2 separate regions of the Homo sapiens genome follow, and region 2 is linked to region 1. Evidence: promoter capture Hi-C in human tissues and cell types (Jung and others, 2019). All regions are on one chromosome and are shown on one strand. The core of a region is centred on a gene start or on the middle of the fragment in contact, and the rest is flanking DNA. Distances in the headings are between cores, read along the strand shown. Region 1 holds the start of GJC1 (gap junction protein gamma 1). Region 2 overlaps LOC107987243 (a long non-coding RNA gene).

Region 1 (6,402 bases), core at 289-2,788:
GCTCTGGAAGTAAGGGTATTTTTCTGTTTTTTTCCATACCCTCTGAGGTTGAAATTTTTTTGCTCTTTTACTCTGAATAATACCTAAACCCTCTCTAGGGAGAGAAATATTTTATTCCTAAATGACATTATTAACGCATTTTTCTACAGATATTAAAGTACTGGAGATATGCTGTTTCCTGCTTATCAGGAAATTAAAATCCCTTTCATTTATGTAGTTTGATTTTTTATAGCGCTTTCACATATATTCACTTGAACGTATACACGACACAAACATATAACAAATTTAGACTTATCAGGCATACAAGATGACCCTCAGCCTGAACTTATTCAAACTTAACTTACTCGATTTCACATCGTCTTGATGCTAACAAAATTAAGCATGAGCATAATGAAATCGGTATCACTGCCAGTTCTCAATGAACAAAAAGAAAACCAAATTCGCCCATTTCGCAAAGGAAAAGTACTCCCAATCAGACAATCGCAAAAAAAAGAACAAAATCTAAACCATACATTCACGTACATCTTTTCAACTCAGAGCTCCAAACGCAGCCGCCAACCACACAACTGCCCACAATCACAGCGGTAGCGCCTACTCTTAATTTTGAAGCTAGAGACTTAAGGAAACACACACACACACAAAACAGTTCTCAAGTTTGACAAAGTGGGGGAAAAGTCATTTTAAGTAAAGACAACGAGTTAATCAGGAGGCGATGAGCCCAGTCCTTCCGCCCCGCTTTCCCGCTTCCAGCCCTCGAACGAACCCTCCTCTAACCCCCGGGAGGCAGGAGTTCCAGCGGGGAGATGCGGGAAGCCTCAGACGAGCCCGCACGCCGCCGGAGACGCAGGGATCGAGGTCGGGGAGACAAAGAGCAGCCCGCGAAGAGCCCGGGCGGCGAGGGGCGGCCCGGCTCCGCCCTGCGCCCCTAACCGCCCGGGTAGTTGTCGGCACCGCCGGGGCGCCGCCGAGTGCGCGCCGCTTCTGTCCGGGCTCCCCGACCGTCGCCCGACACCTCCGCGGCCCAGGACACCCCCGAGCCGTTTCCCTCCCGATTTGGGAGCCGCGCGCCTGGGGACAAAGAGGGAGGGTGCGCCGGGGACAGTGGCAGGACGCGGGCCGGCGACGCCCCTCCGGACTCGGCGGGAACCCCTCGGCGGCGCCCCCCTCCTTCTCCCGCTCTGGCCGCGCTCCTCCCCGGACCTCCGGAGGTTCTCCTCGGCCCCTCCCCGGGCTCCCCAAGAGTTCTCCCGCCTCCCCCTGGGACCCCGCCCCTGGCCCGCTTCTCCTCAGCCGGCCCTGCGGCCGCCCCTCACCCGGCGGCGGGTTCCCCCGGAGCCGCCTCCTCCGCCGGGCCTCGGCCCGTCCCGCCGGTCGCGGCCTCATGTGCCCCGCGTCGCCATCGCCTTCACCCTCGCCTCTCCTCCACCTCCTCCGCCGCTGCCGCCTTCGCCTCAGTCTCCAGCCGAGGCAGAAGCCGCTCCCGCCGCTGCCGCCGCCGCCGCCGCCTCCCGCTCCCGCCGCCGCGACCCGCGGGAAGGCGCCTGCGCACTGCGCGCTGCGGTGGGGGCGGGGGCGTCCCGCCGCGGCCCGGGAGCGGGGGGCGCGCGGCACGTGGCGCTCGAGTGGGAGGGGGGCGCCCCAGAACGCGCGGGAAGCGACGCGAGCGCCAACTTTCCGCGGTCGAGTCCTCGCCGCTCTCTCGGATAGTCCGGGACGCGGCGGAGGCGCGGCGCGCGTGGGAGTCACCCGCGTGGAGTCTGGACCCCGGGTGGGCGCAGACTTCGCTCCGGACAGTTCATTCTTCCAAGCTGATTTTCGGGCGAGAGTCCCCCGCCAGCCGCGCCTCAGTTTGAGCGGGCCGCTAACGGCGCCGTGGGTTCTCGCCTTACCTGGGTATCCTGGGTTGGTTTAGCGGGCCCAGAGTTGTCTTCTGCGCGCTCCGCCGAGGCCTTGGTCCATTGTAGCACGGGATGCTAATGTCTCCTCCCAGGTTCTGCTCTACAATTCCTCGAGGATCTGGCGGGCCCTGCGTGGATCTAGCTAGAGTCGGGGCTCTTAGCAGTGCTCTAGATACTTTTCAGGTCCTGAACTTCTCGGATTAGCAAGACCCTAATAGGCTATTTCCTCTTAACTCTTTGCATCCCAGCAGGATCCCATTCAGAGGACTTGGGAAAAATTTTCATGCATAGGAATCCCCAGTTTTAAAATGCCCAGTAGGAAACCGAAAATTCTCCAAATGCTTTAAGTAGAGTAAGACTTTGGGTAATAAAGGAAGGCTCAGTAAAGAGATGGGCGACCTCTGGAATGATCTCATCTGAGCATCAGAATGCCGATGGACAGGCTTTTATTATTTTGCCCTTTTGACCAGAGGGGAAATTAAGCGCTAACAAGTGAGGTTACTTGCTGCAAGTCAAACTCCCCCACCCAAAGCCAAGCCCTAAGGGGTAGCCCCAGAGTGGAAATCTTGAAGGCTAGGCATCTAATGCACTGACCAGTTTTGTGTGGCCAGTATGTTTTCCAAAAATATGAATTAGTTACCAAAATATTAAAATCCAGATTTCTGGCCTCCCTAAAAAGTCAAAAGCTGCTTACTTTGAGCTTCTCTTTTCACATGGCAGCTCCTCTTGAGTCACCTTGTCCGGGTAGGCAATGTCCCCACTCAGCTGCTTAAATCATTTCATGACCTGCTTGGCCTCGGAGCATTTAAGTACTTCTCCCTGTGATTGCTGTAGTCTGTCCCCACGCCTTATCACATTGCCTCTCTACAGATGTATTTAAAATGACAAGTGTGGGATGGGCGCGGTGGCTCACGCCTGTAATTCCAGCACTTTGGGAGGCCTAGGCAGGCGGATTGCTTGAGCCCTGGGGTTCCAGACCAGCCTGGACAATATGGCAAAACCCCCATCTCTACAAAAAATACAAAAATTAGCCGGGTGTGGTGACGCGCACCTGTGATCCTAGCTACTCCAAGCATGAGGTGGGAGGATCGCTTGAGCCCGGGAGGTCAAGGCTGCAGTAAGCTGAGATAGCGCCACTGCACTCCAGCCTGAGCGACAGAGTGAGACCCTGTCTCAAAAAAATAAGTGAAAAAAATAAAATGACCAGGGTGAAAACTCTGAAAATACCTGGAAATAATAAATAGCATGTAACTAAAATAACACAGGAAACAACATCATTGTACCTGTTGAATAAAATATTAAAATTCTCACAGCCTGCAACTGTAAACTAGTACAAATAACTTTTTTGTTTTGTTTTGTTTTGAGGGAGAGTCTCACTCTGTCGCCAGGCTGGAGTGCAGTGGGCGCCATCTAGGCTCACTGCAAGCTCCACCTCCCCGGTTCAAGCAATTCTCCTGCCTCAGCCTCCCGAGTAGCTGGGACTACAGGCGCACGCAACCACGCCCAACTAATTTTTGTATTTTTAGTAGAGACAGGGTTTCACCATGTTGGCCAGGATGGTCTCGATCTCCTGACCTTGTGATCCGCCTGCCTCGGCCTCCCAAAGTGCTGGGATTACAGGCATGAGCCACCGTGCCTGGCCTAAATCACTTTGTTGTTGTTTTTGCAACAGAGTCTCACTCTGTCGCCCACGCTGGAGTGCAGTGGGGTGATCTCGGCTCACTGCGATGTCCGCCTCCCAGGTTCAAAAGATTCTACTACCTCAGCCTCCGGAGTAGCTGGGAATACAGGTGCCCGCCATCATGCCTGGCTAATTTTTGTATTTTTAGTAGAAAGGGGGTTTCACCATGTTGGCCAGGCTGGTCTCAAATCCTGACCTCAAGTGATCTGCCCGCCTTGGCCTCCCAAAGAGCTGGGATTACAGACATGAGCCACCGTGCCCAGCGGACTTTGCAAAACTGGCAATATCTACTGTTGAGGCTCAGAAAATGATTTCCCAGGGCGTGGTGGCTGTAGTCCCAGCTACTCAGGAAACTGCAGTGGGCTATGATTATGCCACTACACTCCAGCCTGGAAGACAGAGCGAGACCCCATCTCTTTAAAAAAGAAAGAAAGAAAACAATATCCCAAAGTATGGAGCTTTGGCGTGCTGAGTGCTTTGAACTAAAGGAGATTGGAAGGCCTCAGAAGCAAAGTCTCTCTCTGACCTTCTCCTGCCCTCCTGTCTCCCGCCCCTTTCTCCCCTGAAGCGAGTCATAGAAATAAAAATTCCTCTTCCCCAAGGCGGGTCATAGAAACTAGAACCCCTCTCCCCCAAAGCAAGCCATAAAACCAGAAAGGTCACTCTCCCCCTTCTCTCCTCCCCCTTGAAGACCCTCATTCCAGAGGAACCAGGAAGGAATACCCTGGAGGAAGGAATGTTACACTGGGAAGCCAAGAAGAATTTGAACCGACAAGCCTTGTTGGGTTCCCCGCTCAGTCTGTTAAATTAGATCATACCCCTTTTGTCTGATCACATTCTGCTTGTCCATTCTGCATTGAACCTAAGCATAAAAACAATTGTTCTAGGGTATTGAGGGTGTGTGTGTGTGTGTGTGTGTGTGTGTGTGAGAGAGAGAGAGAGAGAGACCGGGTCTCTCTCCATCACCCAGGCTGGAGTGCAGTGGCATGATCTCGGCTCACTGCAACCTCCGCCTCCCAGGTTCAACTGATTCTCATGCCTCAGCCTCCCAAGCAGCTGGGACTACAGGCGCACACCACCACGCCCGGCTAATTTTTTTTGTATTTTTAGTAGAGACTGGTTTTCACTATGTTGGTGAGGCTGGTCTTGAACTCCTGACCTCGTGATCCACCCGCCTAGGCCTCCCAAAGTGCTGGGATTACAGGTGTGAGCCACCGCACTCGGCCCTTTGAGGTCTTAATTTCCGAAGTCTCTTGTGTTACATAAAACTTTGGTTAAATAACTTGGTTATGCCCTTCTCTTGTTAATCTGGGTTTTGTTATAGGAGTGTCAGCTGTGATCCTTATGATGGATGAGGAAAGGTGTCACACCTTTCCGCCACTACACTACTAAAGCTGAACCTATGAATACACTATGCCTTTGGAATTCCATGGCAATTCCACGAAAATGTGTACAAATGTTCACCAAAATACTTGTACTAGAGTATTCATAGCAGCACTATTTATAATAAGTCAAAAAACTAGAAACTACCCAAAATGCCTGTCAACCGTAGAATGGCTAAATTGTGTTACGTACATTATGCTGCAATGAAAATGAACAATCTACATTTACACATAAGATGGATCTCACAAAAGTTTTCATTTACAAAAACTTCAAAAACAGACAAAACTGGCCAGGTGCTGTGGCTCATGCCTGTTATCCCAGCGCTTAGGGAGGCCAAGGTGGGCGGATCACTTGAGCTCAGTAGTTCAAGACCAGCCTTAGCAACATGGCAAAACCTTACCTCTACAAAAAATACAAAAATTAGCCAGGCATGGTTGCATGTGCCTGGAGTCTCAGCTACTCCAGAGGCTGAGGTGGTGAGGTGGGAAGATCACTTGAGCTGGGGAAGTTGAGGCTGCAGTGAGCTGTGATTGTGCCACTGAACCACTGCACCACTGCACTCCAGCCTGGGTTACAGAGCAAGACCGCGTTTAAAAAAAAACAAAACAACAACAACAAAAAAAAAAAACAAGCAAAACTAATCCATGCCGTTAGAAGTAGGGACAGTTGGCCAGGCGCGGTGGCTCACGCCTGTAATCCCAGCACTCTGGGAGGCCGAGGGGAGCAGATCACCTAAGGTCAGGAGTTCAAGACCAGCCTGGCTAACATGGTGAAAACCCATTTCTACTAAAAATACAAAAAATTAGATGGGTGTGGTGGCGCATGCCTGTAATCCCAGCTACTCAGGAGGCTGAGGCAGGAGAATTGCTTGAACCTGGGAGGCAGAGGTTGCAGTGAGCTGAGATCATGCCATTGCACTGCAGCTTGGGGCAACAAGAGCAAAACTCAAAAAAAAAAAAAAAAGAAGTAGTAAGGTGCAGTGGCTCACGCCTGTAATCCCAGCACTAAACCCCGTCTCTACTAAAAATACAAAAATTAGCTGGGCGTGGTGGCGCATGCCTGTAATCCCAGCTACTCCGGAGGCTGAGACGAGAATTGCTTGAACCAGGGAGTTGGAGGTTACAGTGAGTGGAGATTGTGCCACTGCACTCCAGCCTGGGTATAGAGCAAGGCTCCGTCTCAAAAAAAGAAGAAGTAAGGCCAGTGGGCTGGGCACAGTGGCTCACGCCTATGATCCCAGCACTTTGGGAGGGTGAGGCAGGTGGATCACCTGAGGTCAGAAGTTTGAGACCAGCCTGGCTAACATGGTGAAACCCCATTTCTACTAAAAATACAAAAAATTAGCTGGGCGTGGTGGTGTGAGCCTGTAATCCCTGCTACTTGGGAGGCTGAGTTGGAGGTTGCAGTGAGCCGAGATTGCGCCACTGCACTCCAGCCTGG
Region 2 (6,387 bases), core at 1,842-4,341, 170 kb after region 1:
CAGGAACGTGCATCCCCAGAGGTGGATAGAGGAGGGGTACCATTTCCACAGGACACAGCCAAGGACCTCGTACCTACGTGAGGCACAGGGCCCTGGGTATCCTGCTTCCTGACTTTGCCTGCCTGCCCTAAACTAAGCTGCCCTTCCCACTTTAGTTCAAAACCAATCCTGTTCTTGCTGGTCCCAGGCCTCCTCTGAACAGGATGGAAATCAATGAACAACTTGCTGCTATTTGTAGATCTCATTTCCCTGCTGGTCCCCCAACCCTGGATGATCCTGACCAAGTTCAGCCCTGCCCATGCTACTCAGTCAGATGCACTGGCACTGTGCCCATCCACTCGGAGCCCAGTGCTCAGTACTGGGGCTGGCCCAGGGGAGCCGCAGCCCAGAGGCCCCTGCAGGGGGCAGGGCTTATCCTTTAGCTGGGACTAGAGGGTATGGATCCCTGAGAGCCTAGAGGAGATAAGGACAAAGCACAGACTCAGGAATCTGAACTGTTAAGAAAACCCTCCAAGGGATTCAAGGGAAGCTGGTGCAAGAATTGCTGGGAAATGAACAGCAAGCACTGGCTACTGTCAGCTTCCCTTCCACCTGCTAGCTGTGTGACTTTACTTACCTTCTCTGTGCCTCAGCATCCTCACCTGTGAAATGATGGCACGAAGAGCTCTGGCCTCGTTGAGCCTCTGCCTGGAGGGTTAACAGAGGAAACATAGGCATAGGGCTTAACTCAAAGCCGAGCACTTAACAGGCATTCGTCAGTGATTGACAGCAGCAAGTGAGACCAAGGGCCAGGAGCACCAGCACACTGGCCTTCTGCCTGGCCAGCCAGCCCCTCCTGGACACCCTTAGGGTCCCTGGGTGGGTAAGCTTGGTAACCTGTCCTAGAGCAGTGTGCCCATGCTGCACTCAAGGCCCATATTAGTCCCCTGGATGATGAGCGGGAGAGGCTCCCAGGAGGATGAGCAGGGGTAGGCTTGGCCTCGTGGAGGGAAACAAAACATTGACTCCCTAGGAGTTCCTGATCTGCCAGTCAGGATGATGCTGTTGAGGAAGCTGTAAGGTGTCGCCTTTAGGAGGGGTCAGGGAGGGGTCCCAGCAGGAGGCTAGACACTTCCATGGGTGCTCAGTCCCTCAGGTTAGAGGGAAAGCCATACAGAGCCTGGGGTGGTGGGGGCCAGTAAGGCAGAGGGGAGCTGGATGCTTCCTTCCCACTGGGGGTGGGTAGTCAATTCCAAAGAACCACAACCCTTTCTCTTCTTTGATCTCTCTCTCTCTCTTTGTTGCCTTGCCTGTATGTATGGTAAAGCTTTCTCTTCTTCAAAGGGGCCCCAGGTGCCCAAGACTCCCTTCCCACTACCTTGAGACACACAGGGCATAACAGTTACAAATGTGGAGTTCAGCTCAGCTTGCTTGGTTTCTTTTTTCAACTTTATTGAAGTATAATTTACATACAATAAAATGTACACATTTTAAGTGTTCAGTTTGATGAGTTTTGACAAATTTATAGACACATATAACTACCACTACAATGAAGATATAGGGCATTTGCATCATCCCAAAAAGCTCCCCTGTGCCTCTTCCCCGTAGTTCCCCACCCTTCCCCCAGCCCCCGGCAACCACTGATCTGCTTTCTGTCACTATAGATTAGATTTGTCTTTTCTGGATTTTCATATAAATGGAATTATGTAATATGTACTCTTGGTTTCTGGCTGCTTTAACTGAGCAGAATGTTGATGAGATTCATCCTTGTTTTTATGGTGGTACTTTATTCTTTTTGTTGCTCAGAAGTATCCCATTATTTGCACATACAACAATCTGGCCACTTGCTGATGGACATTTGTCTTGTTTCCAGGGTTTCAGTTGCTGTGAATGAAGCTACCATGAGCATGTGTGTACACACAGGTCTTTCAGTAAACATATATTTTCATTTTTCTTGGTTAAACACCTGAGAGTAGGATAACCGAATCTTGTGGTTATTGTATGCTTAACTTTTCAAGAAACTGACAAACTGTTTTCTGAAGTAGTTGCACCATTGTACATTTCCATTATCAGCATGTGAGAGTTCCAGTTGCTCCACAAGCTCATCAACACTTACCATGGTCAGTCTTCCAATGGCTGTGCAGTGTATGTAATTGTGGTTTTAATTTGCATTTCCCTGATAACGAATAATACTGAATTTTTTTTCATGCACATATTGGCCATCCTATCTCTTCTTTTGACCCTTTTACGATGGGATTGTTTGTCTTCTTCCTATTGAATTGTAAGAGTTTGCTGGATACAAGTTCTTTGTCAGATATATGTATTGCAAATATTTTCTCCCAGGATATGGCTTGCCTTATTTTCTTAGTTGTTTATATCTTGATTCTAGGCTGGGCATGGTGGCTCATGTCTGTAATCCCAGCAATTTAGGAGGCCAAAGTGGGTGGATCATCTGAGGTCAGGAGTTCGAGACCAGCCTGGCCCAACATGGTGAAACCCCATCTCTACTAAAAATACAAAAGTTAGCCGGGCATGGTGGCACATGCCTGTAATCCCAACTACTCAGGAGGCTGAGGAGTAGAATTACTTGAGCCCGGGAGGTAGAGTTAGCAGTGAGCCAAGATTGCACCACTGCACTCCAGCCTGGGTAACAAGAGTGAGACTGTCTCAAAAAAAAAAAAAGAAAGAAAAAAAAATCTTGATTCTATTAGTTCCATGTTGTGCACTCTTGAACAAGGTACTTAGTCTTTCTGACCCTTCATTTCCTTATCAATAAAATGGGTCTAAAAGTACCTAGCATATAGAAGTGTTGTGACATTTAACTCAATTAATATATGTAAAATACCTAAACCCAGAGGAGGTCTTCAACTCGTAGTGGTCATTACTGCTATTATTAGGCTGGTGCAAAAGTAATTTGCTATTAGTTTCAATGACAAAAACTGCAATAACTTTTACACCAACCTAATATTTTCAGGCAGTTAATGGCTTCTCTTTCCCCTCTCCTGGATCTGGCCCTGATAGGTTGATATCTCTTTTCTGTCCATCTAGCTCCTGAGGATCCCATGGGCAGGCAAGGCAGGGACAGGATGGAAATAGGATGATGACTTAAGTCATCCTGTGCCCATCCTGCCCAGACACACAAATTTGGGAACCACAAGGTACTGAGCCCAGGGGCCCACCATCCTGGAGCCTCAGAGAGAAGGAAAAAGTCTCTGGGACCCCATAGCTCCTACTTGTGGACCCATGCACATTCACAATTCCTTAGTCACAAAGTCTACACAAACATATGTATGCCACCCCATCACACTCTGCCTGGCACCTGCACAAACTCAGACACTTACACGGGAAGAGAAATGCAGCCATCACTCTACTCCCCAACCCCCACTGCCACTGATCAGGAAGAGCCAGCTTACTGGCCAGACCATGCATAATTCAGAGGTTTGGCCCAAAATAGTTCTATCAGGCCCAGATTCTCCAGTGGGGGCTAGGGGAGGAGCAGGAGCAGCAAAGGGAGTGGGGAGAGACATCTCAACTTGGAGAAGACCCTAGAGTCTGCCTCCTGCCCTAGGTGCCTGGGCAGAGCCTGGGGGCCAGGGGAACTTCAGCGCAGCCTGAAGCACTCACTTCCCAAGTTCCCTCTCCCCCCCACACATCCCCAAATCCTCCCACCCTGGGGAGACAGGGTCACCCGCAGGCAGCTGGGAGTGCCAACACCTGGCCATTCACACCTGCTGGGGCCTGGAGTCCTCACCTGTGTGTGTCAGGCTCCCCAGCACCTCCCCAGGGCCCAGGCTGAGAGGGACACTGCTGAGTTCTCAGGCATCTTTGTCCCAGGTCTCCTGTCTTCACTTCACCAATCAATCAGTTGATAAGTCCACAAATATTTACTGAGCACAAGCCCGGGCAAAGCTGGGTCCTAGGACTTCAGAGGGCACCTGGCTGTGCATGGAGAGGCTCAGAACTTGCTGAGGAGGCAGGAAATCCACAGAAAGGACAAAGACTGGGTCAGAGAGGGACAGGCCATGGAGCTAGGGATGCAGGCGGGGAAAAGCTTCCAGCTGAAAGCCTGACTTGAGCTGGGCCTGCCCAGGTGAAGGCCTGGATTCAGAGAGATGGAAAGGCAGGTGGGAGGGACAGGGTCGGCTGGATGGGGGCAGAGGGTCCGAGGCTATCTGGATGTTAGTAAGAAGATTGGCTGATGGAACTGGAGTCATGTGAGGAAGTCATGGGGCAGGACTGGCATGGCCTTCAACCTTTGGTAGTTCAACAAGGATGGGGACTGCACCATATACAACTCCCGGGGGTTTCCCAAGATTCTCCAACGTGATGTTAAGTGCTTTGCTTTGGAGTCAGCCTACTGGGATTCAAATCCCAAAATCACTATGTCATTGCCCCATGACTTTGGGCAAGTGACTTAAGGTGTGTTTCCTTATGTGTTAAATGGGGGTAATAACAGTTTGTACCAGCCGGGTGCAGTGGCTTACACCTGTAATCCCAGCACTTTGGGAGGCTGAGGTGGGTGGATCACTTGAGGTCAGAAGTTCAAGACCAGCCTGGCCAACATGGTGAAACCCTGTCTCACCAAAAATTAGCCGCGTGTGGTGGCACACGCCTGTAATCCCAGCTACTTGGGAGGCTGAGAGGCTGAGGCAAGAGAATCACTTGAACAAGGGAGGTGGAGGTTGTAGTGAGCCGAGATCGGGCCACTACACGCCAGCCTGGGTGACAAAGCTAGACTCCGTCTCAAAAAAAAAAAAAAAAAAAAAAAAGTCTGTACCTCTTGGCCCTGTCGAAGAGATTAAATAAGAAGTGGACATATATTGGGAGGCTGAGGTGGGCAGATCACCTGAGATCAAGAGTTCGAGCCAACATGGAGAAACCCCATCTCTACTAAAAATACAAAAAAATTAGCTGGGCCTGGTGGCAGATGCCTGTAATCTCAGCTACTCAGGAGGCCGACGCAGGAGAATTGCTTGAACCCGGGAGATGGAGGTTGCGGTGAGTTGAGATCGTGCCACTGCACTCTGGCCTGGGCAAAAGAGTGAGAGGCCGTCTCAAAAAAATTAATAAATAAAAAGAAGTGCACAAATAGTGCTCGGCTTGCCTCCCACGTTCTTCCCACCTGCGTGGAGACAGACGCAGCAGCACAGAGTGTCTTCAGGACCTGGGTGGCTGACCAGGAGAGAGTGTTACTGCCCAGCAGTGAAAAGATGGTGTTGGTGGGCCGGGTGCGGTGGCTCATGCCTGTAATCCCAGCACTTAGGGAAGCTGAGGCGGCGGGTGGATCATTTGAGGCCAGGAGTTTGAGACCAGCCTGGCCAACATGGCGAAACCCCGTCTCTACCTAAAAATACAAAAATTAGCTGAGTTTGGTGGTGCGCACCTGTAGTCCCAGCTACTCAGGAGGCTGAGACACAGGAATCGCTTGATCCCGTGAGGCGGAGGTTGCAGTGAGCTGAGACCACGCCACTGCCCTCCAGCCTGGGCGACAGAATGAGACTCCATCTCAAAAAAAAAAAAAAGAGAGAGAGAGAGATGGTGCTGGTGGACAGAAAGCAAGAGGGCCTTCTGACGGAGGAGGTCTTTCAGCTGTGATTTGAGACAAGGTGCCTGATCCAGAACTAGAGGCAATGTGAACTGGTGGGCCCAGTGATATGGGGGCCATGTAATCCGTGGAACACCACACTTTCCATGACACCCTGGGAGTCACAGGAGGGTTTTGGTTTTGCTTTCCTGTGTTTTTTCCCTGCACAGAGTCTGAATGAGGGTTGCTTTGACTCTACGTTCTGAAAGGCTCCTTTCCTCCTCTCCAGCTCGGGCTCCATCCATCTCTTTGGGCCTCTGGCTCAGTCTCTCCATCACTCTGCCTCCACCTCTTTTGGTCTTACTGATTTTGTCTTTCCCTGAGCCCCTTTCTCCCTCTCTTCCTGGTTCCAAGCCTCTCACAGGCTCTGATTCCATCTTCCCCACCTCTCCTTTGCGCTCTCTCTCTCTCTCTCTCTCTCTCTCTCTCTCTCTGTCGTCTCTCCAGGGACCTTTGTAAAACTCTGCACTCTCTTCCTGGAGACTGGGGGCAGCTGGGGAGTGGGGATCGGAGTCCCTGCCTCTAGGGGCCCATGCCCCAGGCCCAGCTCTGTTGATTAGGGCTTTTTTCAGAGGACTGGAGACATCAATGACTGTTACAAGCTTCACCAATGCTGCTAATATTAGCCCAGGAAGGCAGCTCACTGATGGATTAGGAGAAATTAAGAATTCAAATTCTGTAATTCGAATTGGAGGGCTGCTGCTTGCTGACAGCTAATACTTCCCCAGAAATTAATACTTCCCCAGAAATTAATGAGTGAAGGAGGGATGGCAGCACTGGTTTTCTTCTTTGACAATACAATTTTCCCCCGTGATCCACACCTT

What was found. Contacts are between HindIII fragments. The study calls those that stand out against the background at their distance.
Region 2: a contact is called between a fragment that was not itself captured here and the fragment with the promoter of GJC1 in region 1, in 1 of the 25 tissues and cell types used here (spleen).

What each region holds. Positions count from the first base shown.
Region 1 is chr17:44,828,749-44,835,150 of GRCh38, forward strand. It overlaps GJC1 (gap junction protein gamma 1), which reads right to left and starts at 1,539. Exons shown (of 3, transcript NM_005497.4): 1 at 1,314-1,539. RefSeq lists a silencer at 852-1,141 and enhancers at 1,197-2,170, 2,171-3,144. The HindIII fragment of the contact is 21,747 bases long and covers 1-6,402 here.
Region 2 is chr17:44,997,571-45,003,957 of GRCh38, forward strand. It overlaps LOC107987243 (a long non-coding RNA gene), which reads right to left. Exons shown (of 6, transcript XR_007065771.1): 3 at 642-687. Among named protein-coding and RNA genes, the nearest start is that of C1QL1, 32 kb to the left of the region's middle. RefSeq lists enhancers at 1-602, 6,025-6,387. The HindIII fragment of the contact is 4,011 bases long and covers 1,087-5,097 here.